4 separate regions of the Homo sapiens genome follow, and all the other regions are linked to region 1. Evidence: promoter capture Hi-C in 16 types of primary human blood cells and fetal thymus (Javierre and others, 2016). All regions are on one chromosome and are shown on one strand. The core of a region is centred on a gene start or on the middle of the fragment in contact, and the rest is flanking DNA. Distances in the headings are between cores, read along the strand shown. Region 1 holds the start of MYO1A (myosin IA). Region 2 has its middle 14 kb from the start of ATP5F1B. Region 3 holds the start of NACA (nascent polypeptide associated complex subunit alpha). Region 4 overlaps HSD17B6 (hydroxysteroid 17-beta dehydrogenase 6).

What was found. Contacts are between HindIII fragments. The CHiCAGO score rates a contact against its expected background, and 5 or more counts as called.
Region 2: a contact is called between a fragment that was not itself captured here and the fragment with the promoter of MYO1A in region 1, in 1 of 17 cell types (M2 macrophages). The highest score is 5.0, in M2 macrophages.
Region 3: a fragment that was not itself captured here is called in contact with the fragment with the promoter of MYO1A in region 1 in 1 of 17 cell types (M2 macrophages); the score reaches 6.1 in M2 macrophages.
Region 4: a contact is called between a fragment that was not itself captured here and the fragment with the promoter of MYO1A in region 1, in 2 of 17 cell types (M1 macrophages and M2 macrophages). The highest score is 6.6, in M1 macrophages.

The regions. Positions count from the first base shown.
Region 1 is chr12:57,048,078-57,051,669 of GRCh38, reverse strand. MYO1A (myosin IA) reads left to right here and starts at 1,541. Exons shown (of 28, transcript NM_005379.4): 1 at 1,541-1,783; 2 at 3,327-3,460; 3 at 3,566-3,592. The coding sequence starts at 3,347. The HindIII fragment of the contact is 12,080 bases long and covers 1-3,592 here.
Region 2 is chr12:56,658,563-56,662,154 of GRCh38, reverse strand. No RefSeq gene overlaps it. Among named protein-coding and RNA genes, the nearest start is that of ATP5F1B, 14 kb to the right of the region's middle. RefSeq lists silencers at 323-372, 1,484-1,684. The HindIII fragment of the contact is 2,808 bases long and covers 314-3,121 here.
Region 3 is chr12:56,723,468-56,727,059 of GRCh38, reverse strand. It overlaps NACA (nascent polypeptide associated complex subunit alpha), which reads left to right and starts at 1,761. Exons shown (of 9, transcript NM_001365896.1): 1 at 1,761-1,797; 2 at 2,537-2,608. The coding sequence starts at 2,539. RefSeq lists enhancers at 1,686-1,815, 1,906-1,955, 3,015-3,134. The HindIII fragment of the contact is 3,564 bases long and covers 175-3,592 here.
Region 4 is chr12:56,785,871-56,789,462 of GRCh38, reverse strand. It overlaps HSD17B6 (hydroxysteroid 17-beta dehydrogenase 6), which reads right to left. Exons shown (of 5, transcript NM_003725.4): 5 at 1,673-2,338. The coding sequence ends at 2,121. Among named protein-coding and RNA genes, the nearest start is that of HSD17B6, 24 kb to the right of the region's middle. The HindIII fragment of the contact is 404 bases long and covers 1,549-1,952 here.

The DNA.
Region 1 (3,592 bases), core at 292-2,791:
TGTTCATGTCATTGTTCTTACACCTGAGAGTGCCATCTCATTTTAGAGTCACTTTTCTCGTGAGTAAGCACATAGTAGGCACTCAGTTGACTGAATGGGTGGACATGCAGGTAAACCCCAGATGGCTGCAGATTCCTGGCCTAGAGAACATGAGACTTGGGTTTTGGTGCCAGCTCTGCCAGGTTTGCAGTGGTGTGACCCTGGAAAAGTGGTTTTCTCACTCTAGATCTGTTTCCTCCACTGGTAAATAGGTGATATTTGTCACTTCTGCCTCTAGGACATGGATACTGCTCCACCTACACATAGCATTATGTTTTGATGTCACTTCCACTCAGCTTTCTCTCTTTTCCTTGCCCCCCTCCACCTTCAAATATATGTAGTAGATCAATAAATTATGTAAAGGCAGGTTGATAATAGAACTGCTGATGTGCCAGGCTTACGCAGAGTGCTTCTGTGAGAGCCATAGAGTTTGGACCTTGCACCAAGCAGCCATAGCTGAGAGTTGGAGAATCAAGTCTCTCTTCAGTTAAGTGTCTATAATTACCTAATTTGTTCTTTCTGCATGCCTGGGAGAGAGGATGGTAGGCAGAGGGGGCTTGCTGTTTTTAGGAATTTTCCTGGCTGGATGAAGGGGTACTTCTTATCTATCAGAGGGAGCTATTACATTAGCTCAGGGTCTTACTCAGTATCCTAGTGCTGACGAATTAAAATTAGAAACTTCAGAACTTGGGCTGCAACTTTTGGCAAACTTAGGGAGCTGCATTCTGTTCCTGGTTCTGCCATGCACTAGCATGGAACTGTGGGCACATTGTGTAACCTCTCTGAGTCTGGTGTTTGTTCCTAGTTTTCCATTTTAATGGAGTATCTGTATTGCCTTCCTCGGGGTGGTGCTATTCAGTGAGGCAATGCAAGGGGGAGTTCAATGAAACTGGGACATCTATACACATGTGAGGTATTATTACTAATCACTTTAATCTTTGGGTCTCTATGATAGGGTCTGATTCATGGGGGAAGGGAAGTGGAGAAGAATTTGGGGATTTTGTCTGCTTAGCTCTCCAAGTAATCTCATTAACATCCCCTGACTCCCGATAAGATAGGAAGAGTAGGTATGAGGGAGGTACTGTTTTTTTGCTAGGAAGACACTCTTTGTAAAGACGTGTCTCGCCATGTTGCCTAGGCTGGTCTCGAACTCCTGGGCTCAAGTGATCCTCCCGCCTTGGCCTCCCAAAGTGCTGGGAGTATAGGCATGAGCAACCGCACTTGGCCCTACCTGTCCTTGACAAAATTCCTGACTTCTCTTTGGGAAATATTTTCCTTGGCTATAAATTCCATTCTTCCAGCTTTCATTTCCAAATTTGGGAGACAATGGAGCAAGAACCCTCCTTTAGTTAAGCCTCTCAGCTAACGCCAGCCAGATACCCTTTCCTACCTAGAGGGAGCTTGAGTGTCTCCCTCTGGGGCTTCAGGCCTGTGAAGGGTTAAGTGAGCCACACCCTCAGCAGGAACAGTCTGGACTTTGTGCTGATCAGCCATCTCCGGCCTCTCCTGGTTTGACTGGCACAGGGAGCCTGGGCTGGAAGAGGCAGCAAAAGGGAAAATCAGAAGAGTGGACACTGGCAAGAGGAGGGCAGCCTTTTTCCCAGCTTCCTTGCACCATGGACAGCTCCCATTAAGCCACCTCTCCATCCTGGGGCCAGGACTCTTATGCCCCATTCCTGTCAAATTGAGATTTCATCCACCATTCTCCAAGGACAGTGAAGTTATACCCTAGTTCCAGTGTTGGGTGAGTCCTGCCTTGACCTGTCACTGCTTCTCTTTAACACCTTGGGGCGCCCCATCTGGGGCCTCTTGCCTTTTTCCCTTCCCCACCCTCAACCAGTCACATTCCCACTCCCTTCAAATCCAAATCCAAAGAAGATGACTGCTCCCAACCCACCTTCTGCTTCTCACCCTTCCCTGCCAAGTTAGTTAAAAGACTTAGCTTTTTGTAAAATCTAGAAAATACAAAAATAGTATCTACTTCATGGGGATATTGTAAGCACTAAATGAATTAGTGTATGTACAGTGCTTAGAGCCCTGCCCAGTTCGTGGTAAACGCTGCATGATTCCTAGAGACTGCTATTATTGATATTCTTATTGCTTCCTCAGTTGTGTCCTTCTGGTAAGTGACAAGTGCTCTCTTTTCCTAGAGCTTGGGGAAAGCCAAGTGAAGGGAGAAGGAAGCCTGTGCCCCTTCTTGCCCCACTTCCGTTCCTCCTTCCTCCGCTCCTCCACCCGGGTTCAGAGATGCAATAGCATAGGAGGATGTGTCTCTTTCATTCCTGTTCAGGAGTGGCCTTGACCATTGTACTAATAATCCTGTCCTGTGCCTGGCCACTCTGCCTACTCAGTCTCACAGGAAAGACTGAGGAGGGCCAGGTTTCCTCCTTAGGGAACACCTGCCATGTGCCTACTGCATGGGGGCCAAGCCCCACCACCCTCCCTGTAGTTCCAACTGTGCTCCTCCTTGCCCACTCCCGCAAGAAGCTAGGTGTGTCCCTCTGGGGCAAAGTCCATGCCAGAAGTTTACAGGAGTGGGTGTAAAAGCTAGAGATGGAAAAATAGAGACAGACATGTAGCACATCCAGAGGTCCTGACAACTGCCTGTTTGTTGGGGAAGCAAACCCCACTTTCATTTTCTTTGGGAAATTCCAATCTCTTATGGAGGAATCCTGCCTCTATCCTCTATAATTCTGCCTTGTCAAGTTCCCATTTTAAAAATGAAGCTCACTGTAGCAATGACAGGGAAGGAGAGACCTTTGGAAGAACTTCTGAAATGGTTATGGGTAGGTTGGGTGTCTTTAATAGGGGCTGTGAGAGGTAAGGTGTTGAGAAGAAGCACTGGGGGTAGATGGGGAGTCTGGACCCTGGCCAGGGCCCATTGTAGGAGAGAGAGGGCTTTCTGTACCTGGCGGCAGCACAAGTCTTTGCTTACACTTTCCTCCTCAGCCCTCTCTCCTTCAGTCACAACTCTGCTCCCCCAGTTGTAGCCCACTGGGTGCCTGCCTTCCCCTGGTGGTCAGAGGAAGGTGTTCCTGTTCCACCCCTGCCCCACCCCCACCAACTGTAACCCAGGCAGCAGAGGATCTCCCCCACCTCCTGCTGAGAGTTTCAGCCTCCCTATTAGCTTGGGCTGGTCCAGAGGCCTCTCCTAGGTTGGGGGCTCTCTTTAGGGCCAGGGTAGGAAGAGAGGAAGGCTCTTTTGGTCCTTCTGCCATCCTCCCCTCAAACAGTTACTGGCCCCTAAAGCTGAGTGGACATCAGCAAACTGTGCCTCTTATTCCCAGGATCAGTGGCCCCTCTGGACATGCCTCTCCTGGAAGGTTCTGTGGGGGTGGAGGATCTTGTCCTCCTGGAACCCTTGGTGGAGGAGTCACTGCTCAAGAATCTTCAGCTTCGCTATGAAAACAAGGAGATTTATGTGAGTGTCATATGGGTGCCTCTGGCTGTGGATATGTGGCTGGAGAGGTCACAGGCTCCCACCTCACCCTCAAGCTCATTCCCTTCACCTTCTTCCTGGCTCCAGACCTACATTGGGAATGTGGTGATCTCA
Region 2 (3,592 bases), core at 468-2,967, 390 kb after region 1:
AACAAAAAGACGGTCTTGCCCAGGCTGGAGTGCAGTGGTGCAATCATATCTCAAGCACCACACCTGGTGGACTTTATTCATATATTTTGTAGAGATGGGTCTCCATGTTTCCCAAGCTGGTCTCGAACTCCTAGGCTCAAGTGATATGCCTGCCTTGGCCTCCACAAGTGCCAGTATTAAGGTGTGTGTCACTGTGTGTCACCTGGCTATAATTTTAAATATTTTGTGTTCAAACATTTGAACAGGTTTTCATCAGTCCTTATTGCTTAGGTATCAGACCTTGTGCGTTGTACCTCATCTCTAATTCAAAGCTTCTGTTAAGAACATTTTCTGGGGCGGGCAAGGTGGCTCAATTCTGTAATCACACCATTGAGGCGCCACTGCACTCCAGCCTGGGCGGCAGAGCGAGACTGTCTCAAAAAATGTTCTGGGCTGGGCGTGGTGACTCATGCCTGGCCAACATGGCAAAACCCCCTCTCAAAAAAAAAAAATGATCAATTTAAGATTGTGAGTGAAATTTTTTAAGTTTAGATGAATGGGTATAGCATATTTTTTGTCCATATTGATAGGTTGTGATATTGGTGCTATACGGTTCCCTAAACTTAGCTATTTCCAAGGAGGGCAGATTGAGGGTGATTGCTACAGTAGCATGAAGGTTTTCTCCCCCATTTTAGTTCTAAGCTAATTGAAATTTCTCCTGTTTAGCAGGAATTCTTTTGAGAAATTTTTGAAAATACAATTTTTTATTTGTGGATCACCCAGCATTGTACCAAATAGGAAAAGATGTAGGCTAGGTAGGGAGGAGGCTGGCACTTTGTGAAAAACTTAACATCTAGTTGCTTTGATAGTGATTAAATAAATTGATAACTAAGGGTGTAATAGGGAATACAGAGTAGGACTTCCTGGTCGAATCTAGCAGCCTGTGCAAATAAGAGGACAACTGAAATGGAGTTCTAGGGTGGCAGTAGGATGGAGAATTTTAACAGTGAATTCTAAGGATTTTTGTAAAGGCCTGTTCTAACCCCTACATTCTGTCATCCTTGAGCACTTGAACCTTGAACAACATGGGTTTGAACCCCTTTTAGGTGGATTTTTTCCAACCAAATGCAGGTCAAAAATACAGTATTTGTAAAATGCCAAACCCATGAATACGGAGGGTTCTGTCTGATTTTGGTATGCTTGGTGGTGGAGGGGTCATGAAACCACTCCTCTGGAATATACCAAGGGACAATTGTGTTTTTTTGTTTTTTGTTTTTTTGAGACAGAGTCTCGCTCTGTCGCTGAGGCTGGAGTGCAGTGGCACAATTTCGGCTCACTGCAATCTCTGAATTCCCAGGTTCAAGCAATTCTCCTGCCTCAGCCTTCCGAGTAGCTGGGACTACAGGCGTGTGCCACCATGCCCAGCTAATTTTTATATTTTTACTAGAGATGGGGTTTCACCATGTTGGCCAGGCTGATCTGTGGGTTTCATTTAAACATTGACCACAATTAAATGTTGAATGTCTATTCCTGCTAGTAAAAAGCGTCGTATATCGCCACCAAATATCTTTCCCTCAACACAGTATGGTGAAATACATTTCAGAAATACCATAGCATGAGTAATGTTTTGCAGGTGGATTTGGAGGTAAAGAAACAAGTTTGTGCAGTAATTCAAGTGGTAAGAGATGAAGGGCTAAATTTAGGCAATGGTAATGGGATCTGGAATCCAGGTATATGTAGGTGGTCAAATAAGGCTTGGTGACAACTCATTTAAGATATTGCCAGGCTTGGCCGGGTGCGGTGGCTCACGCTTGTAATCCCAGCACTTTGGGAGGCCGAGGCGGGCAGATCATGAGGTTAGGAGTTGGAGACCAGCCTGGCCAACACAGTGAAATGCTGTCTCTACTAAAAATACAAAAATTAGCTGGGCATGGTGGCATGCGCCTGTAATCCCAGCTACTCAGGAGGCTGAGGCAGGAGAATTGCTTGAACCCAGGAGGTGGAGGTTGCAGTGAGCTGAGATCAAGCCACTGCACTCCAGCCCACGGGACAGAACTAGACTCCATCTCAAAAAGAAAAAAATAATGATATTGCCAGGCTTGCTTTGCTCTTCCCAGATAGTCTAAAGTGACAAATCATTTGTTCGCAAGTTGTATTGTCAGTCTGGGTAATTTCATTGTTCATGTGAAGAACTTATCCAGAACTCACTCCTAAATTATTTATTTATTTATTTATTTAGACACGGAGTCACTTTTTGACATGGAGGCATGATCTCGGCTCACTGCAGCCTGTTTCCCAGGTTCAAGCGATCCTTCTGCCTCAGCTCTCTGAGTAGCTGGGATTACAGCCATGTGCCACCACTCCTGGCTAATTTTTGTATTTTTAGTAGAGATGGGGTTTCACCTGGTTGGCCAAGCTGGTCTCAAACGCCTGACCTCAAGTGATCCACCCACCTCAGCCTCCCAAAGTGCTGGGATTACAGGATTGAGCCATTGTGCCAGGCCAATCCTGAATTTCTTTTCTTTTCTTTTTTTTTTTTTTTTTTGAGACGGAGTTTTGCTCTTGTTGCCCAGGCTGGAGTGCAGTGGCGTAATCTCAGCTCACTGCAACCTCCATCTCCCAGGTTCAAGAGATTCTCCTGCCTCAGCCTTCCCAAGTAGCTGGGATTATAGGCATGCGCCACCAAGCCCAGCTAATATTGTATTTTTAGTAGAGATGGGGTTTCTCTGTGTGGGTCGGGCTGGTCTCAAACTCCCGACCTCAGGTGATCTGCCCACCTTGGCCTCCCAAAGTGCTGGGATTACAGGCGTGAGCTACCCTGCCCAGCCCCAATCCTAAATTTCTTAATCTCAAATCCAATGGCCTTCAGTTGAGTACTTAGCAACCCATTCCCATTATGTATCTCATCATCATGAGTGAAAGAACTGCAAAGCTGCTTATACTACAACTAAGTGTCATGCAGTCTAACTGCCCCTCAACCACTGTTCCTTCTCTGGCCTCACAGCTAATTAGCCTTTATAGCTTTAGTTACTTCCCTATTTCTATTGCGCTGTGATTCATCTTGAACCTATTCTCAAACAATCAAAATCATGGAGTTTTTTGTGATAATGTGGATTCCTAGGTCTTATCTCTGAGATAAGCTTGTCCATGTGGGGCCAGGGATTTGGAATATTATTGATAACTAGAAACCAGTGATTCCTAAAATGTGATCCCCAGACTAGCAGGATTAGTTTTGCCTAGGAACTCATTAGAAATACAAATTCTGGCCCCCAAATAGACCTACTAAATCAGAAACTTTGGAGGTGGGGTCAAGTGATCTGTCAAGCCTCTCCGGGTGATTCTGATGTATGCCAAAGTCTCATTACTGTTTTGGATCTAAAACGTAGGTTCTCATTCGGTTGGTCCTACTGAGATAGCCATGTGCAGTGTGATGTTTTGTGATGAAGGAAATGTTCCATATATCCAGTGTCCGATAGGTAACTACTAGCCAAATAGAGCTACTGAGGACCTGAAAAGCTAGTGCAATTAAGAAATGATTTTTAAATAAAAATCATTACAGGCCAGGTGCGGTGGCTCACGCCTATAATCCCAGCACTTTGGGAGGCCAAGGTGG
Region 3 (3,592 bases), core at 707-3,206, 330 kb after region 1:
TGGTTTAGCTAATTCAGGTACAGCAAATATTTGTTGAGTTCTTTTGTAGGGCTGTGGGAAGATATGGGAGGCTTTTCATTAACACAACACTGATTTTACATTCTACTTTTCAAAAATACAGTTGTACAAAGCATGGTTTAAGGTGGGGTCCCAGACACCTAGAATAAATAAGCTTAGAATATCCAAGAAGTGCCAGGGGCGGTAGTTCACGCCTGTAATCCCAGCACTTTGGGAGGCCGAGGCAGGCGGATCACCTGAAGTCAGGAGGAGACCAGCCTGGCCAACATGGAGAAAGCCCGTCTCTACTAAAAATACAAAAAATAGACTGGCGTGGTGGCGCATGCCTGTAATCCCAGCTACCCGGGAGGCTGAGGCAGGAGAATCGCTTGACCCGGGAAGGGGAGGTTGCAGTGAGCCGAGATCGTGCCTTTGCACCCCAGCCTGGGCAATAAAAGTGAGACTGTCCCAAAAACAAAACAAACAGGCTGGGCATGGTGGCTCACGCCTGTAATCCCAGTAGTTTGGGAGGCCGAGGCAGGCGGATTACCTGAGGTCAGGAGTTCAAGACCAGCCTGGCCAACATGGTGAAACCCGTCTCTACTAAAAATAAAAAATTAGCCGGGGGTGGTGGCACACACCTGTAATCCCAGCTACTCGGGAGGCTGAGGCGGGACAACTGCTTGAGCCCTGGAGGCGGAGATTGCAGTGAGCCGAGATCGTGCCACTGCACTCTAGCCTGGCCGACAGAGCGACTCAAAAAAAAAAAAAAAAAAATCCAAGAAGTGCCCAAAATAGCAAGCAAAGGAATTGTATATGTGCCTATGTTCTTTTTTTCTGGGAAGGAGAATCTGCAGCTTTATAATTTCAACATCGGCTAAATTGTCGTGAACCTAAAACAATCAAAAGGGCCGGAATCTATTTAAAGAGTTTATTCAAGGGCAGTGTGAGGATGGACCAACCAGAAAACCTCCAAAGAATGGAGTCAGCCTTCAGAAGTAGAGAAGTTACGATTTCATTTATTTAGGGAGACAGAGGAGTTTTTAGCTGGATTACGTTATCCATACAAGGTTGGAACATAATTACAGAATTTGGTTACAAGAAGTGTTTTTTTTGGGGGGGGGGCGGGGGTACAGCTAACATTGTTTTACGAAGAGTTTAACACGCATGAGTTGCTGTCATCTGGTGACATCGTTTGAGTCTCTCTAGTCATTGAACAGAACAAGAAAAATCGAATTAAATTTATAATCTGAACTGAAGTTATATGTGACCCATCACATCTCTCAAGTTTTAAAATGGGTTTTTTTGTTGTTGTTGATGGGGGGGGAGAGGGTCCAGCAGCTTTTAAATGTTTTCACATCGTGTGTTCCAAAAATAACTGGTTAGCCTAAGTCACTTCCACCCTCCAATGTTGTGAATGCAGTCTCTAGCATTCGCTATTTAATGTCTTCTTCCTGCACTATTTGAGAAATCGCGAGGTCGACTTAATACCGCAGTCGCCACTTCGCGGACCGGAGGGCGGAGTCTGCTTAGTTCTGAGGACTGCGTGGGTCCGCGCAGAGAGCTCCTGCTAGGCCTGCGCGTCCCGTTCTAAATTCTTACCCTTTAGTCCTTGTCACCACCCCCGCCGTGGGAACGGCCTGACAGTCACTCGTCAAAGGAAGTGGCTGCCGGCAGCTCTTGACCCGGAATCGGATCCTAGTCCCACCCCCTCCGCTCCAGGCTTCCTTCTGCAACAGGCGTGGGTCACGCTCTCGCTCGGTCTTTCTGCCGCCATCTTGGTTCCGCGTTCCCTGCACAGTAAGTACTTTCTGTGCCGCTACTGTCTATCCGCAGCCATCCGCCTTTCTTTCGGGCTAAGCCGCCCCGGGGACTGAGAGTTAAGGAGAGTTGGAGGCTTTACTGGGCCACAGGGTTCCTACTCGCCCCTGGGCCTCCGGACAAAATGGGGTCTGCGGTTGGTGTCCTGGCAAAAGCAGGGTAGAAGGGCTGCGGGGCGGGCCCAGAATCCGAGCCTGCAGAGATGGGAGCAGTTGCAGTGTTGAGGGCGGAAGAGGAGTGCGTCTTGTTTTGGGAACTGCTTCACAGGATCCAGAAAAGGGTAAGGGGTCACAGCCTTAGAACCTGTAACACCGTTCTCCCTGTGACAAGCAAGTGTTGGACTTAAAACACCGTCTTTCCCCTCCTGGTACCCCAAAGTCGGCAAACGTAGTCCAGGAGGCCCCAGCCCAGCCAGTGTGAGTATTAGGAGTGGAGGGGGTTCACAGTAGCGTCTGAAGTCTCCCATGATCGAGAGCCAGCCCGGGATCCTCTCCCTCGGGTTGAGAATGCAGTGGGAATTGCTGGCCTTGATAGAGGCGTGAGGGTCACATCATATTTACCTCTTATTCCCAGGTGCTTTGGGGAAGGTTGTCACCAAACACCCTCACGATTTTTTTCTAACAGCCCTCCTCGGAGTTTTTAAGAATACTTATCTCCGGGTTGGGCAAGTGAATGTATCCCAATCAATTTAGGCCTCCTTTTTATTCCCTTCCTTCAGAAATGCCCGGCGAAGCCACAGAAACCGTCCCTGCTACAGAGCAGGAGTTGCCGCAGCCCCAGGCTGAGACAGGTAGGTTTCCCTACCCTCCTTGCCATTAATTAAAATTAACCCTAAAGCCATTTGGTGGGCAAAATGACCAAGGGGAAATACACTTTTTAGGAGGATGGGGTTGCAGCTTTACCAAGGAGGATAGACCGTAAAATTACTATCCTGGAGATACTTCTTTAGGGATTTGGAGTAAAAATAATATTTTTAAGATTCGTGGACGTTAAAAGTACCCTAGCTTGCTTTCTATGTTATGCCTGTCGCCTCAAAAGAAGCTCTCCTGTGGAACCCCCACCTCACATAGGAAAACTCAGCAGGGAATGGGCTCAGTGATTCTTACCTATTGGAACTAGATGACACAGGCCAAGGAGCCCGGAGCATTTGTGAAACTCCAGCCAGCAAGTTGCATCAAGGTTTTAGTTAGCAGAGCTTGGCATTGTGCCTTTATCACATGTCTGGATGAGATGTGTGCTGGTGGTAAATGTGTCCTACTGGGCCCCAGAGTCGTCCTAGGTCGGATAACTTGTTTATGGGTTGGTGGTGCTGAGATACTTCTAGTGTGCTGGAATAGTTCCTGCATCATTGTGTGAAACCCAGGATTGAAATAAATCCTTTTATCCTCAGCGTCGAAATTAACGACTGTGAAGGCTAATTTTAAATTCTGGTTAAAACATATCTCTGTAGAAAACTTAGGAGGAGGTAATGAAAAGTTCTTAAAATGATAGCCTTTCTGAGTCAGTTGTGCAGCGTTAAATGAAGGAAATCTTCAGGCTGTAATTTTCATTCTCACCTTTTTGGTTTTTTTTAAATTTCATTTGTTATTTAAGGGCAATTCCTGTCCCTTTTTGGAGTTACAGTAGAGTTGCTTATAGTTGAAAGCATAAAGTTTCTTCCCACCTGTTTGATTTTAACAGCTGAAGGGATTAATACAGCTGCTAGGAAGGACAATAGGGGGCTCTAAGCTGGAGTATAAACAATATGAAATTCTTGAAGTACAAGGGGCTTAAG
Region 4 (3,592 bases), core at 501-3,000, 260 kb after region 1:
GGCTCAGCCCCCCGCCCGTCCAGCCGCCCCGTCCGGGAGGGAGGTGGGGGGGTCAGCCCCCCGCCCGGCCAGCCGTCCTGTCCGGGAGGGAGGTGGGGGGGGTTCAGCCCCCCGCCCGGCTGGCCGCCCCATCCGGGAGGGAGGTGGGGGGCTCAGCTCCCCGCCCGGCCAGCTGCCCCATCCGGGAGGTGAGGGGCACCTCTGCCCAGCCGCCCCTACTGGGAAGTGAGGAGCCCCTCTGCCCGGCCAGCCGCCCCGTCCGGGAGGGAGGTGGGGGGCTCAGCCCCCTGCCCGGCCAGCCGCCCCGTCCGGGAGGGAGGTGGGGGGCTCAGGCCCCCGCCTGGCCAGCCGCCCCGTCCAGGAGGGAGGTGGGGGGGTCAGCCCCCCGCCCGGCCGCCCCGTCCGGGAGGTGAGGGGCGCCTCTGCCCGGCCGCCCCTACTGGGAAGTGAGGAGCCCCTCTGCCCGGCCACCACCCCGTCTGGGAGGTGTACCCAACAGCTCATTGAGAACGGGCCATGATGACGATGGCGGTTTTGTGGAATAGAAAAGGGGGAAAGGTGGGGAAAAGATTGAGAAATCGGATGGTTGCCGTGTCTGTGTAGAAAGAAGTAGACATGGGAGACTTTTCATTTTGTTCTGTACTAAGAAAAATTCTTCTGCCTTGGGATCCTGTTGATCTATGACCTTACCCCCAACCCTGTGCTCTCTGAAACATGTGCTGTGTCCACTCAGGGTTAAATGGATTAAGGGCGGTGCAAGATGTGCTTTGTTAAACAGATGCTTGAAGGCAGCATGCTCGTTAAGAGTCATCACCACTCCCTAATCTCAAGTACCCAGGGACACAAACACTGCAGAAGGCCGCAGGGTCCTCTGCCTAGGAAAACCAGAGACCTTTGTTCACTTGTTTATCTGCTGACCTTCCCTCCACTATTGTCCTATGACCCTGCCAAATCCCCATCTGCGAGAAACACCCAAGAATGATCAATTAGAAAAAAAAAAAAAAAAGAAAGCAGTGAGAGGGAAATCTCCAGGGACAGGAGGGTTGGGGGGTTGAAATAGACTGAATAAGTCTATAATCTATTTAATTATTTAGAGAACACTACTGGTAGTGACAGATCTGAGAGAACAACCAAAAAAAGGTTAAGGTAAATAAAAACCTTTGCAAGCAAAAAAGCAAGGCAATAATTAACTCCAAGAAAAACAAAAAATGTTACTATAAAAGAAAAATACTTGATTAAATAGTTAATAATATTCACATACTTAATTATATAAACACTATTCATTTAACCAGAAATGTGATAAAATTATATTCAAACTATAAGGATAAAGGAAATGGGCAGGAAAGTGATGTAAAAAAAAGCCAAATTTGCACCATAACAGAAAGTCAATTGAGAATAGCTAAAATTAATAAAAAATAACAGTATATCATTTAGAAGTTCAGAGATAAATACCAGAAGAAATAGCTAAAAGTTGAGACCATTTGCCTCTGACGAGCAGCAATGAAGGATGAGGATAAGGGCAAGGATTGCCATTTTTCATTTTAAGCTTTTGAATATTAATTGAATTTTTAGCTATATATGTATAACATTATTTTGATTTAAAATTTAAAAAGTAATTTCTTTTTAAAAAAGGAAGAAATATATTGGGGAAAAAAGACTGCTGACAAAAAGAGAAGAGAAAGAAAAATCAAATATTTATTAAAAGTACCATAATACAGACCCATTTCAAGTAAGGACAAACACACCAACATATTTCTTAGTAGTTTCCTCACAATAGATTATTAAAGCATAGAACAATTATTCATATTCATAAAGAAATGACTTCAAAATAGGTTAAATTGTTTTCCATCTACTCTGTTTAATAAGGCAAGAACAAATGATTCACTTTAGACAAATAGTCTCATCAAAAAAGGGCTAAAATAGTAAAGATTCATCACCTAAAGTGGTAAGCTTTGGATATCTGAAATATAAACATGTTAGTACTCTGATGATGCCAGATAAATGAATTTAGGCAAGAAAACACATTGTTACAAAAAGCCTGGGTTCTAAATCAGGATTACTGAGACACTAACAATTTCAGATTTTTGCCTTCATTCCAAGAAGCACCAACCCAGTTTTCTTTAGACTGCCTGGGCTGGTTTGGGCCAAGATCTAGTCAAAATGTAGTCTGCCAGTGATGTAGGTAAATAAGATAGAGGGATGAAGAAAAATTTAGCATCCCAGCCAGCTGAATATCGAGTTCGCGGATGCACCGATGTCAGAGCATGTTCCATGCAGTCAGTGACCAGGTTCAGGTTTGTGCTACAATTCAACAGCCCTTCCTTCATGATATTGTAAACTGTATACAAAAAAAGAAATGGTGGTCAACAATCTTATTCCTTATATTTTTAAGATCATGCAGTCACAGAAGTCTCACCACATCTAATTTCTACAAAATAGAATGATCTAGAATGTGCATCCCAATATGATAGCCACTAGCCACATGTAGCTATTGAGCACTTAAACAATAGCTAATGCACTGGAATAAAAACTAAATTTTGGATTTTATTTAATTTTAATTTTAAAACTCAATCATTTTTCTTTTTTTGTTTGGTTGTTTTTTGGGGTTTCTTTTGAGACAGGGTCTTGCTCTGTCACCCAGGTTGGAGTGTAGTGGTACAATCTCAGCTCACTGCAACCTCTGCCTCCCAGGCTCGTGATCCTCCCTCCTCAGCTTCCCACATAGCTGGGACTACAGGTTCGCATCCCCATGCCCAGCTAATTTTGTTTATTTTTTGTAGACACAAGGTCTCACTATGTTGCCCAGGCTGGTCTTGAATTCCTGGGCTCAAGCGATCCTCCCACATCAGCCTCCCAAAGTGCTGGAATTATAGGTGTGAGGCACCACGCCTGGCCTCAAAACTCAATTCTGATGGCTGGGTGCAGTGGCTCATGCCTGTAATCCCAGCACTTTGGGAGGCCGAGGTGGGTGGATAATTTGGGGTCAGGAGTTCGAGACCGGCATGGCCAACATGGTGAAACCCCATGTCTACTAAAAATACAAAAATTAGCCAGGCTTGGTGGTGCATGCCTGTAGTCCCAGTTACTCAGGAAGCTGAGACAAGAGAATTGCTTGAACCCGGGAGGCAGAGGTTGCAGTGAGCCAAGATCACGCCACTGCACTCCAGCCTGGGTGACAGAGCGAGACTCTGTCTCAAAAAAAAAAAAAAAAAACACACAACTTAATTCTGTTACTAGAGGATTTTTAAATAGGTTTAGAACAACACAGATATGGGAATATACTTTTTCAACTGGAAATTTTTTTAACATTATTGAGATATTCATATATCATAAAATTCAGCCATTTAAAGTGTACAAATCAATAATTTTTAGTATATTCAGAGTTGTGCAATCATCATCACAATCTACATTTAGAACATTTTCATCATCCCAAAAAGAAACCCTGTACCTATTAGAAGTCATTCCCATTTTTCACCGCTGCTGCTACCTCCTCCTCCAGGTCTTCAGAATAATATTCTTATAGGAAATTGACAAATCCCACTCCCACAAAGCTCCTATCACCTGAACAAGAGAAATATAGCCTCAGGGAATG